2 separate regions of the Homo sapiens genome follow, and region 2 is linked to region 1. Evidence: promoter capture Hi-C in 16 types of primary human blood cells and fetal thymus (Javierre and others, 2016). All regions are on one chromosome and are shown on one strand. The core of a region is centred on a gene start or on the middle of the fragment in contact, and the rest is flanking DNA. Distances in the headings are between cores, read along the strand shown. Region 1 holds the start of TAF2 (TATA-box binding protein associated factor 2). Region 2 holds the start of EFR3A (EFR3 homolog A).

Region 1 (7,755 bases), core at 2,899-5,398:
TTTTATACTATTTCTTTCAACCACTTTTCTTTCCACTATCTTGCATAAAAGACACTAGAGGTAGCTAATATTTTAGGTGGGAACAGGGCTGAACTGTCATCTCTCACACTAACAGAATAGCTCAGGGATTAGCAAACTGTCTCTTAAAGGGCCAGATAGAAATATTTCAGGCTTTGTGGGTCACACAGTCTCTGTCTCAGCTACTCGCCTCTGCCAGCGTAGCTCCAAAACCTCCACAGTCAATATGTAAATAAATGGGGATGGCTGTGTTCAAGTAACATTTCACTTAAAAAACAAGTAGTCAGCCATTACCAACTCTTTCAGTGGCTCATAGGACTTTGTAAGTTCCCCATGTTAGGAGCACTAGCTTTTCATCTCAACCAAAGACAACAGTGGATGCGTTGGGGTTAAAAAGGTAGACTGTTCTGATTATTCTCATTTTGCCCCTCCTGATCTGCTCTCTACCCTACTCAATACCCTACGAGTTGCATTAACTGGGCTCTACCCTTCTGGCTGGGTTGGTCCAACAGTTTCCACAAAAAGGAAACTGGAAAACAGAAGGAAAGCAAGTTTATATTAATTACCCCAGATTCCTTTCCGCCAGGCTGCAGGTAAGCAGTAGCTTCATTCTTCTATTAAAAGACACAGGTCCTACAAGGTGACCCATTCCATGGCTACAGTAGGTTCTAGTAACTTCCCCTTCCCGTTGTTGTTTCAGGCCTAGACAACTGTTCCTCACTGTTGATAGCTCAGAGGGTTCCTCCACCTCATGTTGGTTTCTGTTAACTCTGTTCTAAATACTCCCTTCATTTCCCTCAATTAACTTGTGTGTGTGTGTGAGTGTGTGTGTATATATATGTATGTGTATATATATATACACATACATATATGTATATCTGCCATTTACTTCCTACCAAGATCCTAACCCATACAACATCCAATCAAAGTTTCCAATGGGAAACTTAAGTCATCCACAACCCCTTTATAGCAGTCTTGAAAAAGCCACATGCAACTTCTATTGATTCCTCAGGGACAACACAGGTGGAAGGGGGAATGAAAGACGTAAAAAGTGCATCAAACTCTTAGGTCATCAGTGATTAAAAAGGGTTTCATCATTTGCCAACTTTATGCCCTTAAGAAAGTTACTTAACCTCCATTCTTTTTTTAGTTTTTTTTTTTTTTTTTGAGACGGAGTCTTGCTCCGTCGCCCAGGCTGGAGTGCAGTGGCGCGATCTCGGCTCCCTGCAAGTTCGCCTCCCAGGTTCGGCGCGATCTCGGCTCCCTGCAAGTTCGCCTCCCAGGTTCATGCCATTCTCCTGCCTCAGCCTCCCGAGTAGCTGGGACCACAGGCACCCACCACCACAGCCGGCTAATTTTTTGTATTTTTAGTAGAGACAGGGTTTCACCGTGTTAGCCAGGATGGTTTCGATCTCCTGACCTCATGATCCACCCGCCTCAGCCTCCCAAAGTGCTGGGACTACAGGTGTGAGCCACCGTGCCTGGCCCTGAACCTCCATTCTTTTAGCTGCCTCAATCATGCCTTAATTCTAATATTAGGATTAAAATATTATCTATCTCACAGGGTAATTATGAAGATTAAGTGAGTTAATACACATAAACCTTAGAAGATATCTTACATATATTAATGGCTAAATATATGTTCACTAATTCAATCATGTCAACTCTATTTCAATTCCATTTTCACTAATGCTATCTTCATTTAGGACTTCACCATTTCTCCCCTAGATTACCGCAGTAACCTCTGAACTAGACTCCCTAATTCCCTTATCTTTCCTACCCAATTCATACAACATAATACAACTCAAGTATCCTACTATATAAGATATAAGGTACATAACCTAGGGAAGACTGCATGAGAAATTCCATAAACGAGGAGACTAAATTTAATAAATCTTTTAGGAACATTACAAATCTAAGATTCTATGACTCATGAAAAGCGACATTTTTCTATCTATTCAGCTTATCCTAAGTAAATATATACATACATGGGTAACAAATCTGACAGAGAAGTTGATACCATCACTCAAGGAAAACCAGCTCTCATTAACATTTTAGCCTATGTAATAAAGGTAGCCCTAAGAAAGTAAATTAAATAAATACTTGAGTTTTCAGCCAGGTGCAGTGGTTCATGCCTGTAATCCCAGCATTTTGGGAGGCAGAGGCAGGTGAATCACTTGAGGTCAGGAGTTCGAGACCAGCCTGGCCAACATGGAGAAAACTCTGACTCCATTAAAAATACACAAATAAGCTGGGCGTGGTCATGCACACCTGTAATTCAAGCTACTTGGGAGGCTGAGGTAGGACAACTGCTTGAACCCAGGAGGTGGAGGTTGCAGTGAGCCAAGATCACAGCACTGCACTCCAGCCTCAGTGACAGAGCGAGACTCTGTCTCCAAAAACAAACAAACAAACAAAAAACTTGAATGTTCAAGCTTTTTCCTAAAATTGATTATATCAGCAATCCATACATCTAAATTGTGTCGGGAGGCAGGGGGAGGTAGAGGGTTTCTAGATCTCAAATACTCTATCTAAAACTTCATTACAAAGCAACATCACCTAAACCAAGTCAGTCAAGAAGCAAAAATGGCCTCTTAGAAGCCAAGTCAGTGAGTGTATTAATCTTAATTTTTTTCATAGAAGAAATGTCGCTATGGGCTTATACTTGTTTCATGCACAATTATAAAATGCTTGGCTATACAGGCTTTCATATTATACACCAGATAAAGAGGAATAAAATTTTAATTAGGAAATTGAAAAAAAAGGAAAGGGAGAATTTGGGAGGCAATAGGTATTAATAGAAGGACCATGGAACTTGTAATCATACAGACCCTAATTTTAATTCTTACCTATTCTTGAAACACAATTATCTGGAAGACTACAAACTTTCTAAGTACTGTGAGGGGTGGATTGTTACTCTTTATAGTGGACTTGTTACTATTTATAATTGTTGAGAATAAACTTACCACAACAGATTTTCTCTGGAAATTTATGTTGTTGATGCAGACGACCTGATGGGTTGTATATTAATAAATATAAAAAGAAAATAAGGAAAAAATAATTTTTATTATTAAATCAAAGTATAATTCTATCCAAGTATAAATTAGGACTATGTTCTAAGTAATTCAAAATTACATGTCAATATTTCATTTTAAAACTACGAATTGGGGCCTGGTGCGGTGGCTCACGCCTGTAATCCCAGCACTTTGGGAGGCCACGGCAAGCGGATCACGAGGTCAAGAGTTCGAGACCAGCCTGGCCAACAGAGTGAAACCGAGTCTCTACTAAAAATACAAAAGTTAGCCGGGCATCGTGGCACACGCCTGTAATCCCGGCTACTCAGGAGGCTGAGCCAGGAGAAAAGCTTGAACCCGGCAGGTGGAGGCTGCAGTGAGCCGAGATCGCGCCGTTGCACTCCAGCCTGGGCGACTGAGAGACTCCGTCTTAAAAATTAAAAAATTAAAAAAAAAAAAACACTCTACCAATTGGGATAATTTTTTAAAATCTAGCAACAGTCACGAAAACAGATTTGACAGAAATACAATCTAGTACTTAGACAAAAACTTTAGTAACTTGCAACGGGAATTAAATTTGCTGAATAACCTGTCATTCAAAACATTTTTACCTTACAAACACCATTTCCATCACAGTGAGTAAATTCTAGTTTCCCACTAGGTTTCCCAGGCCCACCAAGTCAATTTCAAGCAATCGCAAAATATAATTAATGGCAACAAAACCAAAAGGAAGGAAGGGAAATGAAAAAATACTTATAATTTATATGGCCTTGGGCTTTCAAAGCCCTTGTCTCCTTTCTTCCTGTTCATTCTGGCGGGCTCTACACCAGTCAGCGGCATGAAGCGGTCCCGCGGAGCTTGGCTTCCCGGCTTCCTAGGGGGATACGGGGCATTACTAGTCTTTGGCACCTCACACTCTCCACTCCCCTGCGGTCCCCAAGTCACGTCTCGCAGCTGGCCGGTGCCCAGGTGAGCGACCTGACGGGTCGCTGCCCGCCTCAACCTCGCTCCTTCGACTAGCTCCTAGAAGCCGCCGTCGACAAGCTTCTGTCACAGAGATGCTCCTCTCCGCAAGGGCTCGAAGCTACCATCCGCCGACATCTTGTCTGTAACCTCTGACCTCCGACGTCAGCGGAAGTGGAACGGCGGCGGGGGTAGAACCAGGAAGTCTTGTCAATGGGCAGGGCTTGCGATCTTCGCATGTGTCTTATCGTAAAGAATTGTTAAAATTTAGGATAGGGAAAAAACTATTTAATGGATGAAGCGAGAACAGCAGGAAGAAAAGGAGGGAAGGTAGTTTTCTAGTACAAGCATATTGAGAAGAATGGAGGACAAAGTTTGCGAAGAGCCAGGTATAAATAGGCTGGGGCAGGGTGCTAGTAACTGGGCGGGGTGGGGTGGTGGGAAGTCTCCCGAAATCAGGAGGTGCGTGCCTCTGGCTTGCTGTGTGAACAGACACACTGGGTCCGGTGATTTAAGCTGTAAAATATGTGATTAGACTGCAGGTAGTCTAAATGTCAAAACTGCAGCACTCCACAGCTCTCACTAGGCACTGCTGCCTTAGTATTTATTTTAAAATATAGATTACAAGGCCGGGCGCAGTGGCTCACTCCTGTAATCCCAACACTTTGGGAGGCCGAGGCGGGCCGATCATTTGAGGTCAGGAGTTCGAGACCAGCCTGACCAACATGGTGAAACCCCGTCTCTACTAAAAATTACACAAAATTAGCTGGGCGTGGTGGTGCACGCCTGTAATCCCAGCTACTTGGGAGGCTGGGGCAGGAGAATTGCTTGAACCTGGGAGACGGAAGTTGCAGCGAGCTGAGATCGTTCCACTGCACTCCAGCCTGGGCGACAGAGCTGAGACTGTCTCAGAAAAAAAAAAAAAGAATAAAATATAGACTACAGGCCAGGCGTGGTGGCTCACGCCTGTAATCCTAGCACTTAGGGAAACTGAGGCAGTCATATCACTTGAGGTCAGCAGTTCAAGACCAGCCTGGCCAACATGGTGAAAGCCCGTCTCTAGTAAAAATACAAAAATTAGCCCTGCGTCGTGGCGTGCGCCTGTATTCCCAGCCACTCGGGAGGGTGAGGCACCAGAATCACCTGAACTCGGGAAGCCGAGTTTGCAGTGAGCTGAGATCATGCCATTGCACTCCAGTCTGGGAGACAAAGCGAGACTCCCTCTCAAAATAAATAAATAGACTACATAGAGATATATAGACTGTGTATATATATCATATAATCCATATAAATGCAGAAACATTTATTGAAAGACATTTCGAAGCCATCGTGTTTGTATTTCATGTTCATGACAATAAAACTTGTAAACTTCAGTAACAGTTAAACCTTCTTTAATTATGGATTAGCCATTAACATTTTTGAAACGTGGACCATTTAACCTCGGCCTACCCCCTCCAACTGTCCTGGTGATGAGTTCATTAGCTAAGTTAAAATTAATTTGAACTTTGATCTAAACCAAAACAAATCAGGAAAATAAAGCTGTAAAGGAACTTTATCAAGCATTCCAAAACCAACTAGAAATTACTTGAAGTTTTCGAGTGAGCATTGCCTGTGCCAGTATTCTTCATTATAGGATTATAAACTCGTTTTTTTCCCAAAGCGCATGTCTACGCCAGGCAGAGGAGTAATTATTCAGCCAATTTCATGGATGTAAACGATGGATATAAATAATTGATAGCACCTAGAGGCTTCCAGTTTGGGTGGAAGGCTAAAAGTAGAGGGGAACTCACTCACTTGAGAAATGATATTTAAGTGAATAAATAGTTCTCTTCTATGAAACTATTACTATTTAGTTCTCTGGAAAACTTAAGTGTATTAATGATTAGAACATCAAATCCTAAGTAAAGAAATGACATTTTAAATATAAAAAGCCAAACTTTAAATAAATCATAGAGACCTCAGACATAATATAGGAAAGAATTCTTTTGTCCTTGTTTACACTGTGTACATAGTACAAATATAATTTTAAAGCTACATCCTATAACATTTAAGAAATAACAGTAGTTTCAAAATGCTTAAGATGAGGAGAAAAATGCCTTAGAAGACTAGGTTTCTAAAAGTCAGAAATAAAAGTACAAGTTATTTTTCTTCTATCCAGCAACTTTATAAAGCAACTTGAGTCCTGAAGAAAAGACCGTTGTTCTTTTAAGAAATGGGTCTTCTCGAATTATAAACTTTAACACCATTTTGCATCGAAGAATGAGAATATTTAGTGAGTAATGCACCTATGGTTTGCTTCTCTCCACACAAATCTCTGTAGGAACAATAAAAAATATATAACATGAATATTTTAGGGAACATATTATGATACAGTACTATGTACTTATTTTCTCTCTCTCCCCCTGAATCTGTCTTCTCAACAAGCGTAAGTGTAGGTGTTTGTGGGAGAGATAGGGTGGGGAGTGGTTCTAAGTTTTAATTAAATTAAGTACATTATATGTATTGTCTCATTTAACCCACACAATAAAAGTAGGAGTAGGCCAGGCGGGTGGCTCACGCCTGTAATCCCAGCACTTTGGGAGGCCGAGGTGGGCAGATCACAAGGTCAGGAGTTGAAGATCAGCCTGGCCAACGTAGTGAAACCCTGTCTCTATTAAAAATAGAAAAAAATTAGCCGGGTGTGGTGGTGGGCACCTGTTATCCCAGCTACTTGGGAGGCTGGGGCAGGAGAATTGCTTGAACCCGGGAGGCAGAGGTTGCAGTGAGCGGAGATCGCGCCACTGCACTCCAGCCTGAGTGACAGTGTGAGACTCTGTCTCAAAAAAACAAACAAAAAAAAAAGCAAAAAACAAAAACTAGAAATAATGTATTATTTAACCCTATATTAGATATGAGAACTATGGCTCAGACAAGTAATAAATGAGAGTCAAATCCTGCCACCAGGTTTGTACAACTTCAAAGTCTATGCTATTTCTATTATATGACACAGCCTCTAAATTAGAAATACAAGCAGTGTAATACAGTGAGGCCTACACAGCAGGGCCTAGAGTCAGAGAACCTGGATACAAGGTACCTGTGTGAACTTGTCTAGGTTACCAATGCTTCCTGAACTTTGGTTTCCTCTTCTGTACCTCAAAGAGAAGAAGATTACGACCGGAACATAATAAGGAGAGGGAGGAATAGGAGGACGTGAGCTAGAGAAGGGGCAACAGCTAGATCACGTAGAACCTTGAAGGACAGGGAAAAAGAATTGTGACTTAATTCTACATATAATGGGAAGCAACTAGGAGTGTTTTAATTAATGGAAAAGTACAATGTGATCTAAGTTTTAAATAATGGAGGTGGCCGGGCGCGGCGGCTCATGCCTGTAATCCCAGCACTTTAGGAGGCCAAGGTGGGCAGATCACTTGAGGTCAGGAGTTTGAGACCAGCCTGGCCAACATGGTGAAACCCTGTCTCTACTAAAAACACAAGAATTAGCTGGGCATGGTGGTGCACACCAGTAGTCCCAGCTACTTGGGAGGCTAAGGCAGGAGAATCCCTTAAACTCGGGAGGCAAATGTTGCAGTGAGCCGATATCACACCACTGCACTCCAACCTGGGCAACAGAGTGAGACTCTGTCTCAAATAAATAAAGGAGCCAATGAGTTGACGATTATGGAAGATGAGCAGTGGATATATGGAGGTCTCATTATATTGTCATTTTTGAATATTTAAACAGTATAAGAAGGAGAAAGGAGAAGGGGGCAAAAATAGAACA
Region 2 (7,755 bases), core at 3,449-5,948, about 12 Mb after region 1:
TTACCTGTTTTTGTTTTCATACTCTTGAATAAAATCCTTTATTTATATATTGAATTAATATACTCTGGCCCCCACCTGTGTGCCAGCCAAGGATACATAAACATGAACAGAATATGGCTTTTGCCATTTTCTGAAAAGCAAATAGGCCCATGGTAAAACACAAGCACTCATGACAGTTTATTTAGGATGCAGTGAGAAAAGTGCTGTAGCAGAGAGGAATCAAGATAATGCCAAAGTCTTAGGGAGAAAACTGGAAGCATGAAAGATTTTATAGGTGATAAAATATGCAACAGGGCATTAAAACATGAATAAGCACTAGGTAGTTTGGTCTTTACTGTTAGCAAGGGACAGTCTCTCTTTTTTTTTTTTTTTTTTTGAGATGGAGTCTTGCTCTGTAGCCCAGGCTAGAGTCCAGTGGCCCGATCTCGGCTCACTGCAAACTCCGTCTCCTGGGTTCAAGCGATTCTCCTTCCTCAGCTTCCCAAGTAGCTGAGTGAGAATATAGGCATGTGCCACCACCCCCGCCTAATTTTTGCATTTTCAGTACAGACAGGGTTTCGCCATGTTGGCCAGGCTGATCTCGAACTCCTGACCTCAGGTGATCTGCCCACCGCCCACCTCGGTCTCCCAAAGTGTTAGGATTACAGGCGTGAGCCACCGTTCCCAGCTGGACAGTCTCTTTTATAGGTACAGTACACACTCTCCTCTCCCCAGCTGCCATGACTCACTCTAAATTACCCTTCATCCTCTCCCCAGCCTCTTTTAGGACTCCCCTAGGCTTTGCTAATTCAAATTCTGCTTTCTTCCAAGTCCACCTCAAGCCAAGACTAATTTCTCCTCAGCGCTTCCTAGCTCTGATCTTCATGTTCTTCATCTTCTCCTCCCAGTACTGCACAATATCATTTCTTAATCAGAAGGTTAGCCCTACTTTTTAGGACAAAGGTTCTCAGTATTATCATTGTATTTAAATCATCTGTATATGTGTTCGTAGATTTGGCTCAGCACCTAGGAATCTGCTTTTCAACAAGTCCCCAGGGGATCCAAGCACAAAAGGATCCTGGACCACTTTGACCCACTTTGAGGAAGGCTGTGTTAAACCTCTGCGGTTGGCTTTTATATCTCCATATGGGCTGTCCGCAGCCCACGGCGCCTAGCATAGTGTAGGTGCGTTGCTCAGCTCTCTGGCTCCCGGTGTCTGCTCAGCTTGGTGACTATTAGATACCTCAATTATTAATGACACCCAGAGTCAAGAAGAGTAGCTCAGCCAAGTGCACAGAGCTGCCCTCTCCAGAGGAGACTAACTCCTGAGGGATAAGGTCGCTCTGAAAGTCACAAGAGCAAAAGGAAATTACATTTTCTGCCCTCTCAAAAAATGAGCAGCCATCACCCCAAATGACCTTAGTGCATCTCAAATAAACCATGCTTTCAGAGTATGCAAAACGCACTGCAAGTTAAACCGATTGCAAAAGAAAAAGCCCACAGGTACTCCGTGCGCTCAAAGCCATCATCCTCACAAACGTAAAGTGATGCACTCCAAATAGAGATCAAGGAAAACGAATGCCACGCAGGTCACCAGGCTTGGAAAATAGAAGGCACCCGAAGTTGTTCTACGTGGCTGTCCCCAGCCACCCATTCCACCCGCTCGACAAGGGATCCTGGGCCGAGCCCGGCCATCCGCGGGGGCGGGGCCGGGACGGCGGCGGCGCGCTGACGTAACGGGCGTGGGTCGTCCGTCGCGCCGCCCGGCGAGGAGTGGGCTGGCGGCGGTAGCTGTCGCCCGCTTGGTTGCGTGACCGCGGGGTCCGCGTCCGCTCCCTCCACCCTTCGCCCTTCGCCCTTCGCCTCGTTCCGGCCTCCGCGGCCCAGCAACGGCCGTCATGGTGCCGTCGGCGCTCCCTGCGCGGCCCCGCTGAGCCTCGGTGCGGCGGCGAGCGCGGTCGAGATCGCCATGCCTACCCGTGAGTGGCCGGCCGAGGGCCGGGGGCGTTGGGAGGCGACTGCCTGCGCGACGCGCTTGGGCCGGGTACTCCTCCCGGGCGGCTGGGGAGGCTGGGCCGCGCTGAGCAGAGCCAGGAAGTGTCTGCGAGCGGCGGAGTTAGTTTCGTTTCGGCTTAGCCTTCCGGAGATGGCGTGAGCCCGTTGCACGGATCGGGAAACTGAGGCCCGAACGTTAAGGGAACTGCGGGGACGCGCTGTTAGGAGGCGGCAGAGCTGGTGGTAACCTGACCCGTGGGATTTCAAAGTTAAAGCCCTTTTCCCACGGCCACACGGCTTCGTGGGACTTTATGGAAATATTGAAAATAACTGCGGTACCATTGTCAGTCCCTTCTCACCTCGGGCCGGACGTCGCTAGTGGACGCGCCGGCCCCGAGTCCCTTCCCGCGGCCGCCAGACAGACCCCCGACAGCCTAACTCGGCGTCCGTATCGCCGTCGGGGCGGCTGAAGTCGGAGCTTTCTGTGGAGCTTGTTAGGCAGAGGCACCTCGACTGTGGCTTTTGGACCACACTTCGGATTCACCCGGGCAGATGATTAAAAATGCCGGTTTCGGGACCCGCCCTATTCCCATGGAATTAGTCTGGAGCTTGGGCCCCGGAGTCTGCATGTCTAATAAGCGTCCCTGGGGTTACCAAGGCACCCCAAAGTTTAAAAGTCACTCGGTGTTGGAGGATTTTTAGACAGACGCGATACTACAAGTACTGCTAATGACCTATTTTAAAATGACCCAGATAATCGCAGTGTGACTTTATAGCCACTGGTCAATGTGGATATGTGCAAACTAGGGAAGCTCCTGATCTTGGGTAGAGAGGAAGCAACTTTGTCATTGATTTGAGAATTCAAGTAGGACTCCTTTGACTAAGTGTTCAATACTATAGAATCTTTACACACTTGTGAATATATTTCCTAGAATTCATAACTACTTCTAGTTGTCCTTGTTTTGTAGCCATCTGGGACGCTGAATTTCCAGGTCAGTCTCCAATGCACGTTTCGTCTAGTGGTGGGAAAAGATGAGTTATTTCTTGATATTATAAAGATTGATATTTTCCTGATATTTAAGGATATTAAATTTAAATTGATATTAAAGATATTTAAATATCTTTTTGAGATTTAAAGATTTTCCTGTGGCAAATCTTTACATAGTCCTGATGTAGAGATTACTTTTAACTCCTCATACATGTGTGGGTACTGTGGATTTTGTTTTCTTCACACACTACTGTGTGTCCTTAACTCACGTTCTTGGACTTCGCATCCAGTAAATATGTCCAGTTTAAATTTCTGTTTTATTCCTTTTGGCTGGAGGAATATCATTTACAATCATCTTCATTGTTATTGCCAGTTTAGTACTTCTAAATTCATGTTCACGTTATTCAGTGAATATCTGAGACTAGCACTATGCTAATCTTTTATTTTCTGAGAAACCAAAGGGGAGGAGGTAAGCACCTATTGAAAGTTGAGGCTTCAAGTAGAATTTATTGGTAACATGCCAGAATTATCCTGTGAAATAAAATTTTTAGTTATGTTCTAGGGTTATCTAGCTTCACAGAGTGGATATAGTAAACTCGTTTCTTTTCAAATGTTGAGTTCATTCTGCAAAATGATTTTAGGATGGGCCATGGTGGAGTTTACATAGTTAAGAATGCAGATTTCACACCCTGACTGGAAGACAAGTGAAATGTTTGTTTTATCTGTCATTGTTAATATTTGTCATGGTACATTTTTTATGACTGAATAAAAATGTGCTGTGGATTGATTGGGGGTACCAGTGTGAGGTGAATAGTGTTCATATTTGCCTTTTCTCTCCTTTGGCAGTCACAGCTGCCGAAATTGCTGGGATAGTGCAGTGGACAACAATATTTCTTTGAAATTCTGTTTGTAGAATATATATCCAACACAGAGATGGCAAAATTGTTATTCTCTGTAGGAATTTAGGAGGAAGTTCACAGCTCTTAGGAGGAAAACTGTGCTCAGATAAGCTAAGTGTTTTTGTTTGATTGGTTGTTTTAATGTTAAATGGTTGAGAGGCTTAGTGATAAGCCCAAGCCAGTTAATCCGTACGAGTTTTAATTAAAATCAAAGGGTTGGAGGTGATCACTGTGGTCTCTCAGACTCTACAATTCCGAGAGCAACCCTTGCTGTAAGTCATAGAATTATTCTACTCTTGCTATTTTGTTGCTTATTTGGAATATTGGTACTCATTGAAACTGTTGTTAATAACTAGAATCCAGTGAAGCATGCAGTAACCCCACTGGTTAAGCAATGATATATCTCATGAATATTAACAGCCACTTCACTAGAATTATTTTGGAGATCCGTAGACTCTTTGAGAAAGCAACCACCTGGAAGGATGCCTGACAGGAAACTGCCAGGACACAGAAACAATTTTGTGGTCGTGTTACAAGCCTGTAGTCTGAAACAATCCTTAGGCACAGATTTCAAGACTATGCTGCTGAATGCTGTTGCAAACCTGTAAACCTATAATTTGACACATCATTTTTCTAGAGGCCTTTATTTCATTCTCCATTCAAAGGACCATTAAGAAGCGTTTTATTTGAAAGATTTTCAAACTCTGAATCGGAGTTTGAGTTGGAACGACTGTTAAAGCTTCTTCATCATTTTATGTTGTGTATCGGGAAGCTGAGCCTTCTGAGAGTTTCCATGGAGTAAAACCATGACTTGAACACAGAACTGGCCCCTATAATCAGTAACCACAGTGAGCATAGTAACATTAATTTTTCTCTAGCACTAAATTGATAATAGTTTAGCCTTTTTTTCCCCTTGAGTTACATTAAGACAAATGTAAGCTTGGTCAAAAATTTAAATCGTTCTGTGAACTTACAAGAATGCATTTGCTTCCATCCTGTCACAGAAATCTTTGGAAAAGCTGTGGATATCACTGGTGTGCTAAGTAGATTCTTGTTTATATAGACACAAACTTAAACTTTTAGTAAACTCCTTATGTGAAAATGGCTCCTGAGTTCACAGATAACTTGCCTCAAAACAGGTCCGGTAAAATGTGCTCTTTTATTTTATATGAAAAGTTATTCTATATTTTCTAGGGAAAACCAAAACTCTCAAATATTGTTTGCTGTTAAACTATACTTTGAGTAATTATGTGTGTTGAATGCTTTCTTTTCTCATTTAGGTACTGACGTTGAGGTCTAGGCAAATTTCTTAGGCTGTAATAATAATATGGTTACTCCATGTTTGTTTTTCTTTTGATGAGGCTAATTACATTTAACTTATTTTTTAATTTATTTTTATGAAAGAAATGCAGAATGAATTATAAAAGAGGGTTGCTGATTGAAGTGTTTTCCTTTTAGAGACACATTACATGCAAACTTGACCTACACTTTCATATTACTGGATTATTAGCCTTTTGTGTTCATTCATATTCTCATTCTTTCTCTCCCCTTTTCCCCTCTTCCCCCCTTTCCTCATTGTCCCTTTGCTTCCTTCTCCCCTCCCCTCCCATCTCCCTCCTTCCTCCCTTCTTCTACCCACCACCTATGTGTCCTGCCAGAGTTGTAGCTGATGAATTTTCTTTTTTGCAGTGACCTTTGGCTTGACACTGCCCTGTTTGCTGCCCAGATCTCATCTTTCAGTCTGTCCCCACTTGTGGGGACATGGGGCTACATTAATGATTATGTAGGTGGTAGGAGATAATGCTGGAGAAAGAGAAAGCCAGAATTTGAGGTTTTTTTTTTTTTCTTTTTTTGAGAGGGAGTCTCGCTCTGTCGCCCAGGCTGGAGTGCAGTGGTGAGATCTCTGTTCACTGCAACCTCCAAATCCCGGGTTCAAGCAGTTCTCCTGTCTCAGCCTCCCTAGTAGCTGGGACTACAGGCATGTGCCACCACGCCCGGCTAATTTTTTGTATTTTTAGTAGAGATGGGATTTCACCGTGTTAGCCAGGATGGTCTCAATCTCCTGACCTCGTGATCCACCCGTCTCGGCCTCCCAAAGTGCTGGGATTACAGGTGTGAGCCACCGCTCCCGGCCATTTGAGGGGTTTTATATGCTCTCGCAATCAACAGTTACGGTGGCTTTTTTATAGGCTTAGTAGCAGTTTCCAACTTACTGATTACTTTATGAAGACTTACAGTTTGCTATTAGTAATAGGAAGTAATTATTGAATACTGATTGTGTGGTAGGCAGTATACTTTGTGCTTTACCTGAATTATCTTCTTTAACTCTTCCACTTTGAGGGAGGCCCTATTTGACCTGTTTTAGAAGATAGAGAGATTGAAGTTCAGAAAAGTTAAGTAACATTCCTAATGACAGTAAGTAATAGAGCTGTTATTGCAACTAGATGGGTCTGACCTCTTAAGTCCCAGCTCTTTTTTCATACTATAGTGCTCTGAGCCAGGCAGGAGTTGAACAGGATCCCATCAGTTTTACACTGTCACTTTTGCTTAGCACTGTGCCTGGTTATATAATAGGTGCTTGGTAAATGCCAAATAAATTAAAAATTGAATCTTTACAAAATTTTTAAATTGATACATAATATTTTCACATTTATGGAGTAGGGTACATGTGATATTTTGTTAGATTCATACAGTGTGTAACAATCAGGTCAGGGTATTTAGAGTATCCATCACTTTGAGTGTTTATCATTTCCATGTGTTGGGAACATTTCAAATCCTCTCTTCTAGCTACTTTGAAATATACAGTACATTGTTATTAACTATAGTCATCCTACTCTGTTATCAGACATTAGAACTTACTCCGTCTAACTGTATGATTTACCTATTAACCAACCTCTCTTCATCCGCCTTGCTCCCCCACATGCTTCTGGCCTATATGCAGAATAGATTGAATTGTAACTGGAGTCAGATAAGTTATTCTTTGGATACCATAACCGGAACTTTTTTTTCCCATAAAGATAGTGTTATAAAAGTTTTATAATTTGGCCAGGTGCAGTGGCTCACATCTGTAACCCCAGCACTTTGGGAGGCCAAGAAGAGAGGATCGCTTTTGGCTGAGAGTTCTAGACCAGCCTGGGCAACATAGACCCCGCCTCTACAGAAAAATTAAAAATTAGCCAGGTGTGTTGGTACATGCCTATAGTCCTAGCTACTTGGAGGCTGAGGCAGGAGGATTGTTTGAGCCCAGGAGGCTGAGGCTGCAGTGAGCTATGGTCTCACTACTATACTCCAGCCTGGGCAACAGAGTAAGACCTATCTCTAAAAAGGAAAATATATATATATTTAGTTTATGATTGTGTTCTTTGCAGGCCTGTCTGTACCACATTTGAGGTCTGAGACAAGAATACAAATGGAGGTCTGCAAATCATAGTTTAAATCAGGGATTTTCAGTCTTTACACTATTGATGTCTGGGACAGGTTTAGGGGTAACAGGGGCTGTCCTATGCACTATAGGACATTAAACATCATCCTTGGCCTCTACGAACTGGAAGCCAGGAGTAACCCTCCTGCCCCAAGCTTCTGTCAACCAAAAGTGTCTCTAGATATTGCCAAATGTTCTCTGGGGGACAAAATTGTCCCTGGTTGAGAACCACTGGCCTAAATATTTAAATGTTATAGACCATACTATGCCCGCAGCCTGGCCTGCTTTCCCATGCAGGGTCCCCAGCCTGCTCCCTAGGCATTGCCGTCTCAGTGCAGAGGTCCAAGTAGCTTGCAGGCTTGATCCAGTCAGTAGGACCCTGGCCTGGGATTGACTGTCAGTTTCCTTCAGGGAGCCAGGGTGGGCAGGTTCCCCTCCTTTGATACTGTACTTTTCCATCTCAGGATTTCTAG

The links. Contacts are between HindIII fragments. The CHiCAGO score rates a contact against its expected background, and 5 or more counts as called.
Region 2: a fragment that was not itself captured here is called in contact with the fragment with the promoter of TAF2 in region 1 in 1 of 17 cell types (naive CD4 T cells); the score reaches 6.1 in naive CD4 T cells.

What each region holds. Positions count from the first base shown.
Region 1 is chr8:119,828,693-119,836,447 of GRCh38, forward strand. TAF2 (TATA-box binding protein associated factor 2) reads right to left here and starts at 4,149. Exons shown (of 26, transcript NM_003184.4): 1 at 3,790-4,149; 2 at 2,985-3,039. The coding sequence starts at 3,872. It overlaps DSCC1 (DNA replication and sister chromatid cohesion 1), which reads right to left. Exons shown (of 9, transcript NM_024094.3): 9 at 5,284-6,309. The coding sequence ends at 6,201. It overlaps LOC105375728 (a long non-coding RNA gene), which reads left to right and starts at 4,187. Exons shown (of 4, transcript XR_928590.3): 1 at 4,187-4,384. RefSeq lists enhancers at 3,801-3,850, 3,911-4,270. The HindIII fragment of the contact is 3,868 bases long and covers 4,075-7,755 here.
Region 2 is chr8:131,902,365-131,910,119 of GRCh38, forward strand. It overlaps EFR3A (EFR3 homolog A), which reads left to right and starts at 1,729. Exons shown (of 23, transcript NM_015137.6): 1 at 1,729-1,958. The coding sequence starts at 1,949. RefSeq lists a silencer at 1,626-2,105 and an enhancer at 2,676-2,725. The HindIII fragment of the contact is 200 bases long and covers 4,599-4,798 here.